Regions from separate parts of the Homo sapiens genome. Here region 2 is linked to region 1. The links are contacts of gene promoters, found by promoter capture Hi-C in blood cells and fetal thymus (Javierre and others, 2016). All regions are on one chromosome and are shown on one strand. The core of a region is centred on a gene start or on the middle of the fragment in contact, and the rest is flanking DNA. Distances in the headings are between cores, read along the strand shown.

Region 1 (7,725 bases), core at 3,662-6,161:
AAAGTTCTGGGACCTACCCTGACCAGAAGGGGCCTGGTCCCCTGGTTCTTGCATCCTGTCCTCCAGCCCTTGCCCCCGATCCTTGATGGGGCCCACATCCCAGGAGGCAACGGCAGCAGGGGAGATGAATGACACCTCACTCCAGGGCTCAGGGGAGACCGCTGTCCCGGGTGTCCCTCCCCACAGCAACACAGGCTGCTGCAGCTTGTGTTTTTTGTTGTTTTTGTTTTTGTTTGATGGAGTCTCACTCTGTCGCCCAGGCTGGAGTGCAGTGGTGCGATCTCGGCTCACTACAATCTCTGCCTCCTAGGTTCAAGTGATTCTCCTGCCTCAGTCTCCTGTGTAGCTGGGATTATAAGCACGCCCCATCACACCTGGCTAATTTTTGTATTTTTAGTAGAGATGCGGTTTCGCCATGTTGGCCAGGCTGGTCTTGAACTCCTGACCTCAGGTGATCCGCCCGCCTCAGCCTGCCAAAGTTCTGGGATTACAGGCATGAGCCACCATGCCCGGCCCCATTTCCACCATCTTCAGAGGCCAAATGCCGGGATGCTGTGAGTTGAGGAAGACCCTGGTGGGTGGGCCTGGGAACCCAGGCACCTTTTAAAAAGTCACATTAGTCCCAAACCAGTGACTCAGAAGCTTCTGGAACACAGCCCACTGTAAGCTGGGGCCTCCTGCCTTCGATCTCAGGCTCCCAATCGGACCTTGAGAGCTCTCTGCCCCTCCTGCTCTGTTCCCAAAGCTGCCTCCCAGGCACTGCTTGCATGCCAAGGTCAGGCTCCCCTGGGATGCTAATATTTTTATTCTTGATTTCTATCTTTTTTTTTCTGTTTTCTAAGTTTTAGGGTTTTATGTCTTAGCAATACTCAAAGGAGAACAATCATGAGTTTAGAAGTGATCTCCGAGTAGCCACGTGGTGGGGCACCCAGGCCCCGGCCCAGCCCTGTGGCCATACCTTCTCAGTCCTTTTCCCTGGAAGCTCCAGGAGCCTCAAAATAAGCTCCTTGTCCACCTGAGGAGATGGAGCTAGAGAGACCAGTCATCCTCAGACCTCAGACCTTAGAACCTGGGATGCCTGGGCATGGTGGCTCACGCCTGTAATCCCAGCACTTTGGGAGGCCGAGGCGGGCGGATTATGAGGTCAAGAGATCGAGACTATCCTGGCCAACATGGTGAAACCTTGTCTCTACTAAAAATACAAAAATTAGCCAGGCGTGGAGGCGCGTGCCTGTCATCGCAGCTACTCAGGAGGCTAAGGCAGAAGAATAGCTTGAACCTGGGAGGCGGAGGTTGCAGTGAGCTGAGATCGCGCCATTGCACTCCAGCCTGGCAACAAAGCAAGACTCCGTCTCAAAAAAAAAAAGAACCTGGGACTGGCTAATGCATGGCCTGAAGAGATATGACTGGTGTTTCCACCTAGTCAATGACCAGAAACTCACAGCCCCCTCTACAGAGATTTGGGGTGGGGACGGCAGGGCAGCACATAGCCACTGTCTCCAGGAGGTGGGGTGGGAAGCAAAGCTCCTGCTCTCAGGCAGCTCTCAGTGCTCCAAGGAACATACACAAATGAGCCCTGGGCTGGGGGTCAATGCCTGGGCTCCCGTCCTGTTTCTGCCACCAAAGTGCTGGGTGACAGTGAACCAGTTATCACTCATCTCTGTTTCCTCCTCTGTAAAATGGGTAGTCTGGGCTAGATGCCCTGCCAGGCCCTGCCTATGTTAACATCCTCTACCCATTTCTAGAACAAATCAGCAGGATGAGACATGAGTGGAGAAATCAGCAGAGGAGTGGAAGATTCTGTCTGTCCACCCTGGGCCTGCACATAGCACCTGGTCTCCAGGACCCAGGCACTGACCTCCATGGCTGCTAGAGGCTCACGTCAGTCAGCAAGGATTCTGGGCACGCCCTGCCTCTCCTGACACCCAGAAGGTCACCGCTTCAGAGCTGACTCTACCCCAGCCCCACTAACCACAGAACAGAGCTGGCGTGGGAGTTAAGACATCTCTACCAGACAGAGCACTGCAGGGGCAGGAAGTGGGGGAGCCTCTCTTGACCATCATTGGCACGAGGCTGGCAGGCTGGGCACCAAACCCAGATGCAGACATCTCCGCCTCATTCTCTGGTCACCGGCTTGCTGGCTCCCCAGGGACACACACTGCCTACTGTCCCTCAGGTCCCCTGGTCTCTGCAGCCCCTGAGGGCCTGGCACTTGGTGGGAACACAATACTATAATAGTTAAGCTGAGGCCGAAATTCCACCCCTTCCAGTAGAAAGCGTGCTCCAGGACCAGCAGAATGCGTGCTTTAGGACCAGGAGACCCTACGTCACAGTGGCCGGCATGACTGTCCCCATTTGCATCCCCACACCACACCTTCAGTGGGGAGACCACCATTCTCCACTTCATAGAACTCCCCAGGCACCCCGAGCTCCCGGAGGCAGGAAATATGACAACTGCGTCTTCCCTCTGTGCAGCCCTTCACGTATCCTAATGCGCTTTCCCCCACATCTCCTGCAATCCTGACAACAACCGTGTCATGCAGGCAGAGCGGACGTTATCCCCATTTGACAAAGGGGCACTGAGTCCACACAGCTAGTCAGTGCTGGGGAGAGATGGGAATCAAGGAGCCCTCTTCCCAAGGGAGGTCCTCCTTGCCAGGGTCACTGACAGGGAATGGCCAGGACAATGCTGCCTCAAGACCAGCCCTGGGTGGGCCTTCCTGTCACACACTTAGACTGGGCACAGGTGAAGAGTGGCCCTGAGGCCCAATGCCCTGACATCCTCCTTTCCCTGGGGCCAAGCACAGGCAGACTCCGGGTAATGGCACAGGGGTGAAAAGGCAGGGACTAGGGAGAGAGGTGAGAGCCCCGGAGGCCCCCAGGACACATTTTGACTCAAAGGCAAAGCAAACAGCAACTCCAACAGGTCCCAAGTTGGTGAGAGCTGCAGGAGAGGACGCTGTGGGGGGACAGTGGGCAGGACTCACCTCCCGCAGCAGCTGCATCCCCTTGAGCTCCTCCTGCTGCTGCTGGGCCACGGTGACCCCCAGGACCAACGTGTGCACCACACAGGAGACCACGGAGATGATCACGATGGGGCTGAGGCTGAGGGGCAGCGTGATGAAGAAGGAGAAGACAAAGAAGACCTGCCAGCCCACCGTGTCACTAGCCGCGTGGGCACGCGCGAAGTTCAGGCCCAGGTAGGAGAAGATCTGGGCGGTTATGAGCAGCCACAGCACGTAGGGCAGCACTCTGCGGGTGACCCGGTCCGGGAGCAGCCCCTTTTTGCAGAGCACGAAGAGGATGATGTCCAACACCAGTCCAATTCCAGCCACGGCGAGGGAAGCCAGCTTGTCGCTGGAGAAGACCACAGCACACATGACCACCACGTAGCAGTCAAAGAGGGCTGCAAAGACCACCAGCACCAGCAGGGTCTCGTGGCGCTGCCTTTTGAAGTAGGTCTGGTAGAGGTTCTCCAAGGACTCCGGCACGAAAGTCAGCCGCATGAAGCGAGGCAGGCACAGGCAGGAGCCCGAGTTCCGGACCGAGATTTCATGGGTCCGGCCCACCCCGCGGTCAGGGTCGGAGGGCAGGCTGACGGAGTACTCGGCTGAGTACTCGGCCGAGTATTCGGGCTCGGAGAAGCCCTGGTTCCTCGGCATACTGGCTGGTGTCTGCTACTGGCCCTAGAGAAGTGGACTGGGAACGGAGGAAGAGCTCTGGACTGGGCCTCCTCTCAGGGCTCTCTGAGACCGGGGGAGGGCTGAGGGCCTCTTCTTGTCTGGGGCGGAGGGGAGGCCACCTCCAGCAGGAACGCAGAGCGGGTTTCCAGAGCACAGGTAGCACTGATCAGCTAGAACTGAAAAGGGCATTGCTGAGTAGAAGCACCTCTTCCCTCCTACCTTGCGGTTTCCCCATGACCCGCCCTAACCCTCATAAAAGGATCTCTGCTGCAAGAGCCTCCCAACCCAGGGCCTTCCCTGCCACCCCCGGCTCACACCACCGCCCACCGCAGGCACACTTAGTCCTGTCCACGCCAGACACTCAATTTCCTGTCCCTGGCTTGTGGAAGGGCCTAGCCGCCTTTCCATCCCTGGTAACCGGTTTCTCTCTGTCATCTCTTCTTTCTCAGTCCCCGACTTCCTCACCTAAATTCCCTCCAGGCCCAGTCCTTAGAAGCTGTAAATAAAATGTGCCGGAAAGAAATCAGGACCATCGTGGGGGATTCCTGAGCCTTCCTTCTGTTTACTTCCTTTTTCCACCAAACCCTTGGAGGCTCGGGCTCCGATCCGGCCCCCTTCCCACGCTCGGGGCGCTGTCTTCCCCCCCGGAAGCCTGGCCCTGCCCCTGCGTTTACCTGTGCGGGAACTCGGCCACCGCGTGCTCCGGGACGGTCCCCGCGCGGGCTGGGGCGGGAGAGCTCGGCGCGCCCGAGGGCTGCTCCCCGCAGAGCCGCGCCGCCCCGGCAGCGCCTCGGGGCCCGGCCGGAGCGCGATCTCCCGCCGTCAGGCCCGGGATCCGACCGGGAGAGGCGCAGGGCTGCCCCTCAGCATCCGCGGGCGCCCGGCCGCAGGGGGAAGGAGGAGGCGGCGACGAGGGCTGGGAGATCCGTGGGCGCCGGCCCAGCGCGCCCGCCCTGGGGCTGAGGCTCAGGGGCAGGGGCCGTGCGGGGGCCGGCAGGCGCGGGCGGCGGCGAGCGCGGCTCTCCGGACCCCTCCCCTGCACCCGCGGCGGCGGCGGCTGCTAGGGGCGCGCGCGGGGCCCTCCCCGGCGGGAGCGCGGGCCGAGCCCGGGGAAGCCCGCCAGCATCCTCTCGCCCGCCCGCGCCGAGCCGAGCCAGCCGAGTCCGGGCTCGGCGTGCTGCACAGCTATTCCCCGCGCGGCGCCGGCGGCTCCGGGGCCACGCGCGCTCCAGGCCCCGGGAGGCGGGAGGCGGGAGGCGGGAGGCGGGCGGGGCGGCCCCTCCCTCGCCCCAGTCTCCGCCCTCTCGGCGGCGCGTTCCGGAGTGGGGCGGCGAGGGAGGCGCCGGGCGGCGGTCCCAGGACCCGCGCGGGCGAGAGGTGGAGGGGCCCGGGCGGCCCCCGATCCGGCGCGGGCGGCGGGCTGGGGCGATGGCTGCGTGGAAGCGCGGGCGCGGGCGCGGGCGTGGGCGGTGGGCGGTGGGCGGCAGGGCTGGGGCGAATCCACCCCTTCCAGCGAGGAGGCCCGGTCTAGGAGGATGGAAGCCCGGGACGCGCCCGCCCGCAGGTGAGGCGCGCTCGGGGCACCCCGCCGCCCCCTCCTCCGCCGCGGCTTCCTTCCGGGCCGGCAGAGGCCAGGGCTCAGGTTTGGGGACCGCTCCGCCGCGGGGCACGTGGGGCCTAAGTATCCCCGCCCACCCCGGGAGCCCAGACTCCGGAGCGCCGGGCCTGAGCTTTCCGCAGAGGGGCTCGGCAGCGGAGCCCTGTCCTGCTCCCAGGAGGCGGGTGGCGGTGGCCCGGTGGGCACTACACACGTGGAACTGGAAGAGTTCCTGAGACCCTGCTTCGAAGAGATTTCCCGTGCACATTCTACCCGTTTGAGATGTGTTTGAGTTCACAAACTGTCCCTTAAAGATGCGAATGCTCCTTTGAATAGTTAAACCTATCAGTCTCTTACACCATAGTATAAATTATTTTCCTTGCATTTGACAGAACACCGTGCTAAGATCAACTACAGGCTTTGGGAATTTAAATAAAGGAAGAGGAAAGAGATAGAATGTTTTGGGACAAAAGGGACAAAAGCATGTGTGGGAAGGTAAGTGCTGAGGACAGCCAGCAGCAATAGGGGGTCATCTCCCCTGGGGAGAGCTGAAGGAATGAACAGAGGGGAGAGAAACTTGGCTATCCAGACCCTGGATGGAGCTGCCACCCCATGCCCCTGAGAGTTATCCGCGGGCACCCCTTCCAGAACCTCAGGCATCACCTTGCATCCCTCGGGGAATGGATCCATTAGAGAATCGATCCTGCCACTGCTGTTTCTACCGTTCCCTCACACTCTGTCTGAAAAGGCGCCACCTTCAGCCCATACTTCGCAGGGCTTTGATTCCAAAGGTAGGGGACCTAACATCAGATATAGGAGTTTGGTAATTTAAATAAAGCAAAACTTTGCCCCATTGTTTTATTTTATTTCTATTTTTTATTTTTTCGAGACTGAGTCTCACTCTGTCACCCAGGCTGGAGTGCAGTGTTGTGATCTCAGCTCACTGCAACCTCCACCACCCAGGTTCACGCAATTCTCCTGCCTCAGCCTCCTGAATACCTGGGATTGCAGGCACACACCACCAAGCCCGGGGTAATTTTTGTATTTTTAGTAGATGGGGTTTCACTATGTTGGCTAGGCTGGTCTTGAACTCCTGACCTCAAGTGATCCGCCCACCTCAGCCTCCCAAAGTGCTGGGATTACAGGGATGAGCCACTGCTCTGGGCTGCCCCATTGTTTTAATTTGCTGGAGGTTTTTGGGTTTTGGGGGGGATTTTTTTTGGAGGGAGTTATTTGTGGTTTGTTTTTTGTTTTTGTTTTTTAAAAAGGAAGGCATTTATTTATTTATTTATGAGACAGAGTCTCACTCTGTCGCCCAGGCTGGAGTGCAGTGGCCATCTCAGCTCACTGCAACCTCCGCCTCCTGGGTTCAAGCAGTTCTCCTGCCTCAGCCTCCCAAGTAGCTGGGATTATAGGCACCTGCCACCATGCCTGGCTAAATTTTGTATTTTTAGTAGAGACAGGGTTTCATCATGTTGGCCAGGTTGGTCTCGAACTCCTGACCTCAAGTGATCTGCCTGCCTCAGCCTCCCAAAGTGTTGGGAATACAGGTGTGAGCCATCATGCCTGGACTTTGCTGGAGGTTTAAACATTTATTTTGAATTGTCACATGATGTTAAAGAGGACATGACTTTTATGTTTTACAAAGGGAGATGTAATGTACGGCAAGGCGCAGTGGCTCATGCCTGTAATCCCAGCTCTTTGGGAGGCCGAGGCAGGCAGATCACTTGAGGTCAGGAGTTCGAGACCAGCCTGGCTGACATGGCAAAACCCTGTCTCTACCAAAAAATACAAAAATTAGCCGAGCGTGGTGGCGGGTGCCTGAAGTCCCAGCTGCTCAGGAGACTGAGGTGGGAGAATCGCCTGACCCTAGGAGGCAGAGGTTGCAGTGAGCCAAGATCGTACCACTGCACTCCAGCCTGGGCAACAGAATGAGACCCTATCTCAAAAAAAAGTGGGGGTTGGGGGAGAGATGTGCTAATGTTTTTTAAAAGGCTGATAAATCTTGTGCTTGGTCCTGCTTTGGCACAAGAGACACCATGTTGCACCCTCTGTGGGTCCCTTCCCCTTCCTTGGCATACATGCCAGCCCTGTGATTCTCAGTGTGGCACCCTGTCCGCAAGGCCATGCCCAGCTCCTAAGCTGAGAGGGTTCTCTGCTGGGCCCTCTGCCACCACTCATGCCCCAGCCTCCCACCCCATGAAGGGAGAGAGTTCCACACAGAGGCACCCTCATATAAAAAGAACAACAACAAATTGATCCCTGCCTCTCCAGCCCCTGCCTGCTGGCTTCACTGTCCCACTCCCTGTTCTTCCACCATCCCTATCTCTCCTCTGTGGGCCCCTGTTCAGCGGGCACTGGGGAAACCAGAGGAGCCTTATAGTTCTGCCAAGGCACCATGTTGACTCATGAGGCAGACCCTCAGGTGTACACAGGTTACAGTTG
Region 2 (7,725 bases), core at 3,670-6,169, 530 kb before region 1:
GTTCTACAATCAGCAGGTGGCAGGTCCAGCCAGGCCTGTGTCCTTCCCTTCAGGACGGCAAGTTCCCCCAGGCCCTGGACAGGTCCAGAGGTGTCATCCAAGAGCCCGGACCTGGAATAAAAATCCTTAGAAGCCTACCTGATGTTCTATTGTACTGCAGCTGAGCTGGCTTTCAAACCATGAGATGCCGTCTTTCCAACTCTTTCCTCTCCTTTCCACAGTCGGAGGAGTCTCACCCAGTGGCCACTACTACCACAGGCCCATGGGGAGTACTGCCAGGCTATTAAGGCCCAAGGGCTCTTAAGCTCACTGTACCTGGCTATAAGTTTTATTTAACACTGTTGTTCATGGAAGACATTTGCTGCTCTTTTCGGATCAGCCCAAACTGGGCCTTAGAATGTGTCATAGGGCCGAGTGGAGTGGCTTATGCCTGCAACCCCAGCACTTTGAGGCGCTGAGGTGGGTGGATTGCTTGAGTCCAGGAGTTCAAGACCAGCGTGGGCAACATGGTGAAACTCCATCTCTACAAAAAAATACAAAAATTAAATACAAAGATTAGCCGGGCATGGTGGCATGTGCCTGTGGTCCCAGCTACTTTCCTGGCTGAGGGGGGAGAATCACCTAAGCCCAGGAGGTCAAGGCTGCAACCTAGGCCACAGTCTTGAACTCCTGGCCTCAAGTGCCCACCTCAGCCTCCCAAAGTGCTGGAAATACAGGAGTGAGCCACCGCGCCCGGCCTGGTCTCTTTTTTTCTATCTCTCTATTTATTATTTCTCTCTAAATCCCTCTAAACTCTGTTCATTACTATTTCTATTTCTATTCCTGTGTAAGTCTCCTGGTGATGAATTATCTTCGCTTTTGTTCATACCAAAGTGTCTTAATTTGCCTTCATTCTTTTTCCCAATGTTTTTATTATGGTAAACTACACAAACATAAAATTTACCATCTTAAATGTTTTAAAGTGTGCAGTTCAGTAGGGTTTTTTTGTTTTGTTTTCTTGAGATGGCCTCTCACTCTATTGCCCAGGCTGGAGTGCAGGGGCATGATCTTGGCTCACTGCAACCTTCCCCTCCCAGGTTTAAGCAATTCTCTTGTTTCAGTCTCCTGAGTAGCTGGGATTACAGGTGCCCACCACCACACCTAGCTAACTTTTGTATTTTTAGTAGTATTAAGTACATTCCAATTATTGGGCAACCATTGTAATCACCCAGTGGGTTCTTCCTGCCTGCTGCACAGGCAAAATCAATCCACTGAGACCATGGCATTGCAGTAAAGAAAGCATGTAACTGATGCAAGGCTAGCTATGCCATGAGCGAGACAGAGTTATTAGTCAAATCAATCTCCCAGAAGTCTCAGAGGCTAGGGTTTTTCAAGGAGTTTGGTGAGCAGGGGGCTAGGGAAGGGGGCATTCTGATTGGTTGGGGATGCCATCACAGGGTGTGGAAAACAGTCCAGTCCTGGTGTGATGAGTCGGCTTCTGGGGGAGGACCACTAGAGGTGTCGCTGGTCTGGGTGGGGCCATCCAGTAGCCAGAAATGCAAAAGCCTGGCCATGCAGGAATTACACGTATAATTCCAGCACTTTGGGAGGCTGAGGCAGGAGAATCACTTGAGGTCAGGAGTTCGAGACCAACCTGGCCGACATGGTGAAACCCCATCTCTACTAAAAACACAAAAATTAGCTGGGCGTGCTGGTGCATGCCTGTAATCCCAGCTACTCAGGAGGGTAAGATGTAAGAATTGCTTGAACCCAGGAGGTGGAGGTCACAATGAACTGAGATCACGCCACTCCACTCTAGCCAGAGTGCGACTCTGTCTCAAAAGAAAGAAAAAAGAAATGCAGAAACCTGAAAAGATATCTCAAAAGGCCAATCTTAGGTTCACAATAGTGATGATATTTACAGGAGTAATTGAGGAAGTTACACATCTTGGGACCTCCGGAGTAATGGCTGGTAATCATTTAACTATGCACATAACTTAGCAGAATTCAGGACCCTCTTACCCTCCTAACTTGGTGGTCTTTCATTAGTTTTACAAGGGAGGTTTAGTTTTGGGGGAAGGGCTACTATCATTTAAGCTATAAACTAAATTTCTCCCAAACTTAGCTTGGCCTACACCCAGGAATATGCAAAGATAGCCAGCCTATGAGGCTAAAAGCAAGATGGAGTCAGCCATGTCAGATTTCTCTTACTGTCATAATTTTGCAAAGGCAGTTTCACCATCACCACCATCCATCACCAGAACTCTTTTCATGTTGCAAAAACTCTATATCCACTAAACAATAACTCTCATTTCTCCTCCCACCAGCTCCTAGCAACCATGATTCTACTTTCTAAGATTTTGACTATGCTAAGTACCTCATACAAATGGAAGTATACAATATTTGTCTTTCTGTGACTGGCTTAATTAGCATAATGTCTTCAAGTTTTATCTGTGTTGTAGCATGTGTCAGAACTTCCTTCTTTTTTAAGGCTGAATAATATTCCATTTTATGTATACATAACATTTTGCTTATCCATTTATCTGCAACTTGAGTTGCTTCCACCTTAGAGCTATTGTGAATAATGCTGGCATGAACATGGGTGTACAAATACCTCTTCAAGACCCTACTTTCTTTTTTTTTTTTTTTTTGGAGATGGAGTCTCGCTCTGTTGCCCAGGCTGGAGTGCAATGGCGCGATCTCGGCTCACCATAACCTCTGCCTCCCGGGTTCAAGCGATTCTCCTGCCTCAGCCTCCCAAGTAGCCGGGACTACAGGCACGTGCCACCATGCCCGGCTAATTTTTGTATTTTTAGTAAAGATTGGGTTTCACTCTGTTGGCCAGGCTGGTCTCGAACACCTGACCTCATGATCCACTTGCCTCGGCCTCCCAAAATGCTGCGATTACAGGTGTGAGCCACCTTGCCTGGCCAAGACCCTACTTTCAATTCTTTTGAGAATATACCCAAAAGTGAAATTGATGAATCATATGCAAATTACATTTTTAATTTTTAATTTTTTTTTGAGATGGAGTCTTGCTCTATCACCAAGGCTGGAGTACAGTGGCATGATCTTGGCTCACTGCAACCTCCACCTCCCAGGTTCAAGAAATTCTTGTGCCTCAGCCTCCCGAGTAGCTGGGATTATAGGCATGTGCCATCATGCCCAGCTAATTTTTGTATTTTTGGTAGAGATGGGGTTTTGCCATGTTGGCCAGGCTGGACTTGAACTCCTGGCCTCAAGTGATCGGCCCACCTCAGCCTCCCAAAGTGTTGGCATTACAGGCATGAGCCACCGTGCCCAGCCCCATTTTTAATTTTTGAGGAACCACCGTAACTGTTTTCTGCAGCAGCTTCACCATTTCACATTCCCACCAACAGTGCACAAGGATTCCAATTTCTCCACATCCTCGACAATGCTTGCTATTTTCTGGAGTTTATTTATTTATATAGTTTTAAAAATGAGATGGAGTTTAGCCATGTTGTTCAGGCTGGTCTCAAACTCCTGAGCTCAAGGGATCTGCCTGCTGCAGCCTCCCAAAATGCTAGGATTACTGGCTTGAGCCACTATGTCCAATCCTGGAGTTTGTTTTGTTTAGAGTAGCCATCCTAATAGTGTGAAGTGGTATCTCACTGTAGTTTTGATTTGCAATCCCCTAATGATTAGTGATGTTCCCCTCCTTTTCTTTTCATTTTGCCTTCTTTTTTTTTTTTTTTTTGAGACGGAGTCTTGCTGTGTCGCTCAGGCTGGACTGCAGTGGCGCTATCTTGGCTCACTGAAACCTCTGTCTCCCGGGTTCAAGTGATTCTCCTGCCTCAGCCTCCCGAGTAGCTGGGATTACAGGCACCTGCCACCATGCCCAGCTAATTTTTATATTTTTAGTATAGACGGGGTTTCACCATGTTGGCCAGGCTGGTCTCAAACTCCTGACCTCAGGTGATCCACCTGCCTCGGCCTCCTAAAGTGCTGGGTTACAGGCGTGAGCTACCACACCCGGCTGCCTTCATTCTTAAAGGATGTTTTGCTGGCTATAGAATTCTGGATTGATTTACTTTTTTCTGATCCTATACTTGAAGATATTGTTTCACTGTCTTCTGATATCTATTATTTATAAGAAGAAACAGCATTCATTTGTATCATCATTCCCTGCATATAGTGAGTTGTTTTCTCTGGCTTTCAAGATTTTCTCTTTATCTTTGGTTTTCAGCATTTTGACTATACTGTGTGCAGGTATGGTTTTCTTCATATTTTTTTTTTTGGTGGGGAGAGGGTTACTTAGCTTCTTAAATCTATAAATTTATCTTTCAACCTATTTAGAAAATTTCAACCTCTTTTTCTTCAAAATAATTTTTCTGTCCCATATTCTCTTCCTTACTTCTGAGACTCCAGTTACACATATTTTAGCTCTTTTGCTATTTCCCCTCAGTTTCCTGAGAGTCTATTCATTCCCGCCCTCTCCCATCCATTTTCTGTCTGTTACTTAGATTGAGTAATTTTTATTGATTTCTCATCAAGTTTTCTGACTTTTTTCTCCTGTCACCTTCAATCTGCTTCTAAGCCTGTCCAGTAAAGCTTTAAATTTCAGATATTAAACTTTTCAATTGTATAATTTACATTTGGTTACTATAGTTTTTATTTCTCTGCTTGTATTTTCTTTCATTAATTATGAGTAATATTTTCCTTTATATATGTACTCTGTTTGGCACAATTTTAATAGCTGCTTTAAAGTCTTTGTTATAACTCAACATTTGATGCATGTCAGCATCAGACTCTTGAGTACTGGGGTCACATTTCATTTTTATGTCTAGTAATTTCAGATTGTACCTTGGATATTGTAAAAGATACCTTGTAGAAGTTTTGGATTCTGTCACATTTCTCCAAAAGGGTTTGTTTGTTTGTTGTTTTAAGTAGGCAATACATATATCCCTTTCTTCTTTTGTTTAAATGTCAATTTTAGTTTTGCCAGTTGGGTGCAGTGGCTCATGCCTGTAATCCCAGCACTTTGGTAGGTGGAGGCAGGAAAATCACTTGGGCCCAGGAGTTTGAGACCAGCCTGGGCAATGTAGACAGACATCATCTCTACAAAAAATAAGAAATTCGCTGGATATGGTGGCATGCACCTGTGATCCCAGCTACTTGGGAGGCTGAGGGAGGAGGACCCCTTGAGCCTAGGAGGTCAAAGTTGCAGTGAGCCATGATCATGCCATTGCCCTCCAGCCTGGGTGAGACCCTGTCTCTAAAAAATAATAATAATAATTTTTGTCAAAGTGAGATATACACATAATTTTAAAAAGTCTAACACAATGACAAAGCTTGTAATGACAATAGTAGAACACTATACCACCATTTCCACCCTGAAACCTGCCCCTCAGGAAGAAAAACTTTTAATTCTTTCAGCTGTTTCTTCTATTTACATCTACTTTTCTAAAAATATTTCTAAAAATATTCATATATATAGATATACACACATAATTTTCATATGTACATATATATGTATATTCATATATACACACACACTTTTTTTTTTGAGACAGGATCACTCTCTGTTGCACAGGCTGGAGGGCAGTGGCGTGATCATGGTTCACTGCGGCCTTGAACTCCTGGGTTCAAGTGATCTTCCCACCTCAACCTCCTGAGTAGCTGGGACTGCAATTGTGCACCACTATGCCTAGCTAATTTTTAATTTTTCTTTTGTAAAGACAGGGTCTCACTATGTTGAACAGGCTGGTTTCTAACTCCTGGGCTCAGGTGATCCTCCTGCCTCGGCCTTCCAAAGTGTTGGGATTACAGGCATGAACCACCATGCTTGACCTCTCATATTTTTATTTATATGTTATCTATTGACGTTCTATTATGGAGTCACAAAATTTAGCACACTTAAAACCTCCTTCCCTCTCTTCATACTCCCAATATATTTGTAGTACATTTTTGTTTATATCAATATTTATACTGTTTATATTATCTCACTATATAACACTTGCTCAATGTTAAGCCAAGTAATATAATACTGATAAGATAAATTTTTATTCATATTAGAATTAATAATTGCCCTGTGGGTTGTTTTAGCAGTTTTCTATGTAATAATTACTAGTTCAACCTTAAACTTAGCAATATAATGGTGATACCCCTCTGAATGTTGATAATTCCTATTGCCTTCAGCTATGCCTGGTATCCCTATGTTTAGATGCTGTAAGTTTCTTAACACACAGTCAGTCTTCTGCTGGAGTGGGAAAGAAGGTCCATCTGTCTTTGAAAAAGGAGTTCTGGCCGGGGCCGGTGGTTCGTGCCTGTAATCCCAGCACTTTGGGAGGCTGCGGCAGGTGGATCACTTGAGGTCAGGAGTTCGAGACCAGCCTGGCCAACATGGCAAAACCCTGTCCCTGCCAAAAATATAAAAAATTAGCCAGGTGTTGTGGTGCACACCTGTAGTCCCAGCTACACAGGAGGCTGAGGCAGGAGAATCGCTTGAACCTGGGAGGCAGAGGTTGCAGTGAGCTGAGATCACACCACTGTACTCTAGCCTGGGTAGGCAACAAAGTAAGACTCTGTCTCAAAAAAAAAAAAAAAAAAAAAAAAGAAAAGAAAAGAAAAATGGAGTTCTAGGGGTCTGAGTGAGCCATGTAAGGTTTTTCAATGGATCCTTCTCTTTTCATCTGTAACATGAATTTCTGCCTTTAGAGATACCTGGTGCCTCCAAATTCTGAGCATGTCCAAGATCCTCTGGCAATATCAGTTTTCTTCTCATTAGCATACTCTTGGTTTTAAGCTTTCATAATTTGAGTAACACTAGTAATTTCTATCTTCCAGAAATCTGCTGACATTGCTTGTCTGCACCTGTGTTCGTTCTGTGTTTTGTCCCTCCACATCCATTAGCCATATTTTTCTGCCCCGCTCCGTATCCTGAGAAGATAACACCTATGGACTTGCACTCCTTTGATTTTTGGCATCCAGTTCGATTCAGCTAACTGGAGTGACTGGAAGAAGAATGCAGAGTGGGAGGGGATAGAATAATAGATGTAAGCGCATTTATTGCCATTGCTGTGCCCCCTTTTTATGTGCCTCTTCCCTGGAGGCTGCTGTGTTGGTAGTGGCAGAAAACTTGTACCTAACTCCATGGCTCCCCTAGGGTGACTTTCTCCTATGCCTGGAGTTCTTACCAGGTTACAGTAATTATTCTTTCCACTTGCCCCTTGAGGCCTAGGGATGGTGACAGCTTCCCAGTGTTGCTAGTGCCTGGGTACTTTAGCATCTCTTTTTGGTTCTCTTAATCCTGCCCACACCTCTGTAAATAGTTTCCTCATTAAATTTTCTTCATTTCTCCTTTGAGCATGCCAATCTGTTTCCTGCCAGAACTCTAACTGCTATGTTGCTGTTCACGTTCCCCCTTTACTATGTTTATTCATTTCAAAAATTTTATTCTCATTTTAGCAGAGTTTCTGGAGGCAACAGAAATAAGTGTCATATGCTCAATCTGATGCGTTTAATTATTGAATATCCTTTTCTCCACTATCCCTATGCATAAGTATTTGACTCTACTTTCTTTTTCTTTCTTTTTTTTCTTTTTTTTTTTTTTTTTTTTTGAGACAGAATCTGGTTCTGTGCTCAGGCTGGAGTGCAGGGGCACGATCTCAGCTCACTGCAACCTCTGCCTCCTGGGATCAAGCCATCATCCCACTTCAGCCTCCCAAATAGCTGAGAGGGACCATAGGTGCATGCCACCACTCCTGGCTAATTTTTATACTTTTT

The links. Contacts are between HindIII fragments. The CHiCAGO score rates a contact against its expected background, and 5 or more counts as called.
Region 2: a contact is called between a fragment that was not itself captured here and the fragment with the promoter of ADCY3 in region 1, in 2 of 17 cell types (erythroblasts and megakaryocytes). The highest score is 5.5, in erythroblasts.

The regions. Positions count from the first base shown.
Region 1 is chr2:24,915,326-24,923,050 of GRCh38, forward strand. ADCY3 (adenylate cyclase 3) reads right to left here and starts at 4,912. Exons shown (of 22, transcript NM_004036.5): 1 at 4,358-4,912; 2 at 2,988-3,859. The coding sequence starts at 3,662. LOC124907742 (a long non-coding RNA gene) reads left to right here and starts at 5,019. Exons shown (of 2, transcript XR_007086246.1): 1 at 5,019-5,247; 2 at 5,673-6,133. RefSeq lists an enhancer at 1,645-1,894 and silencers at 4,297-5,026, 5,057-5,116, 5,157-5,366, 5,377-5,466. The HindIII fragment of the contact is 7,828 bases long and covers 641-7,725 here.
Region 2 is chr2:24,385,945-24,393,669 of GRCh38, forward strand. No RefSeq gene overlaps it. Among named protein-coding and RNA genes, the nearest start is that of ITSN2, 29 kb to the left of the region's middle. The HindIII fragment of the contact is 740 bases long and covers 4,550-5,289 here.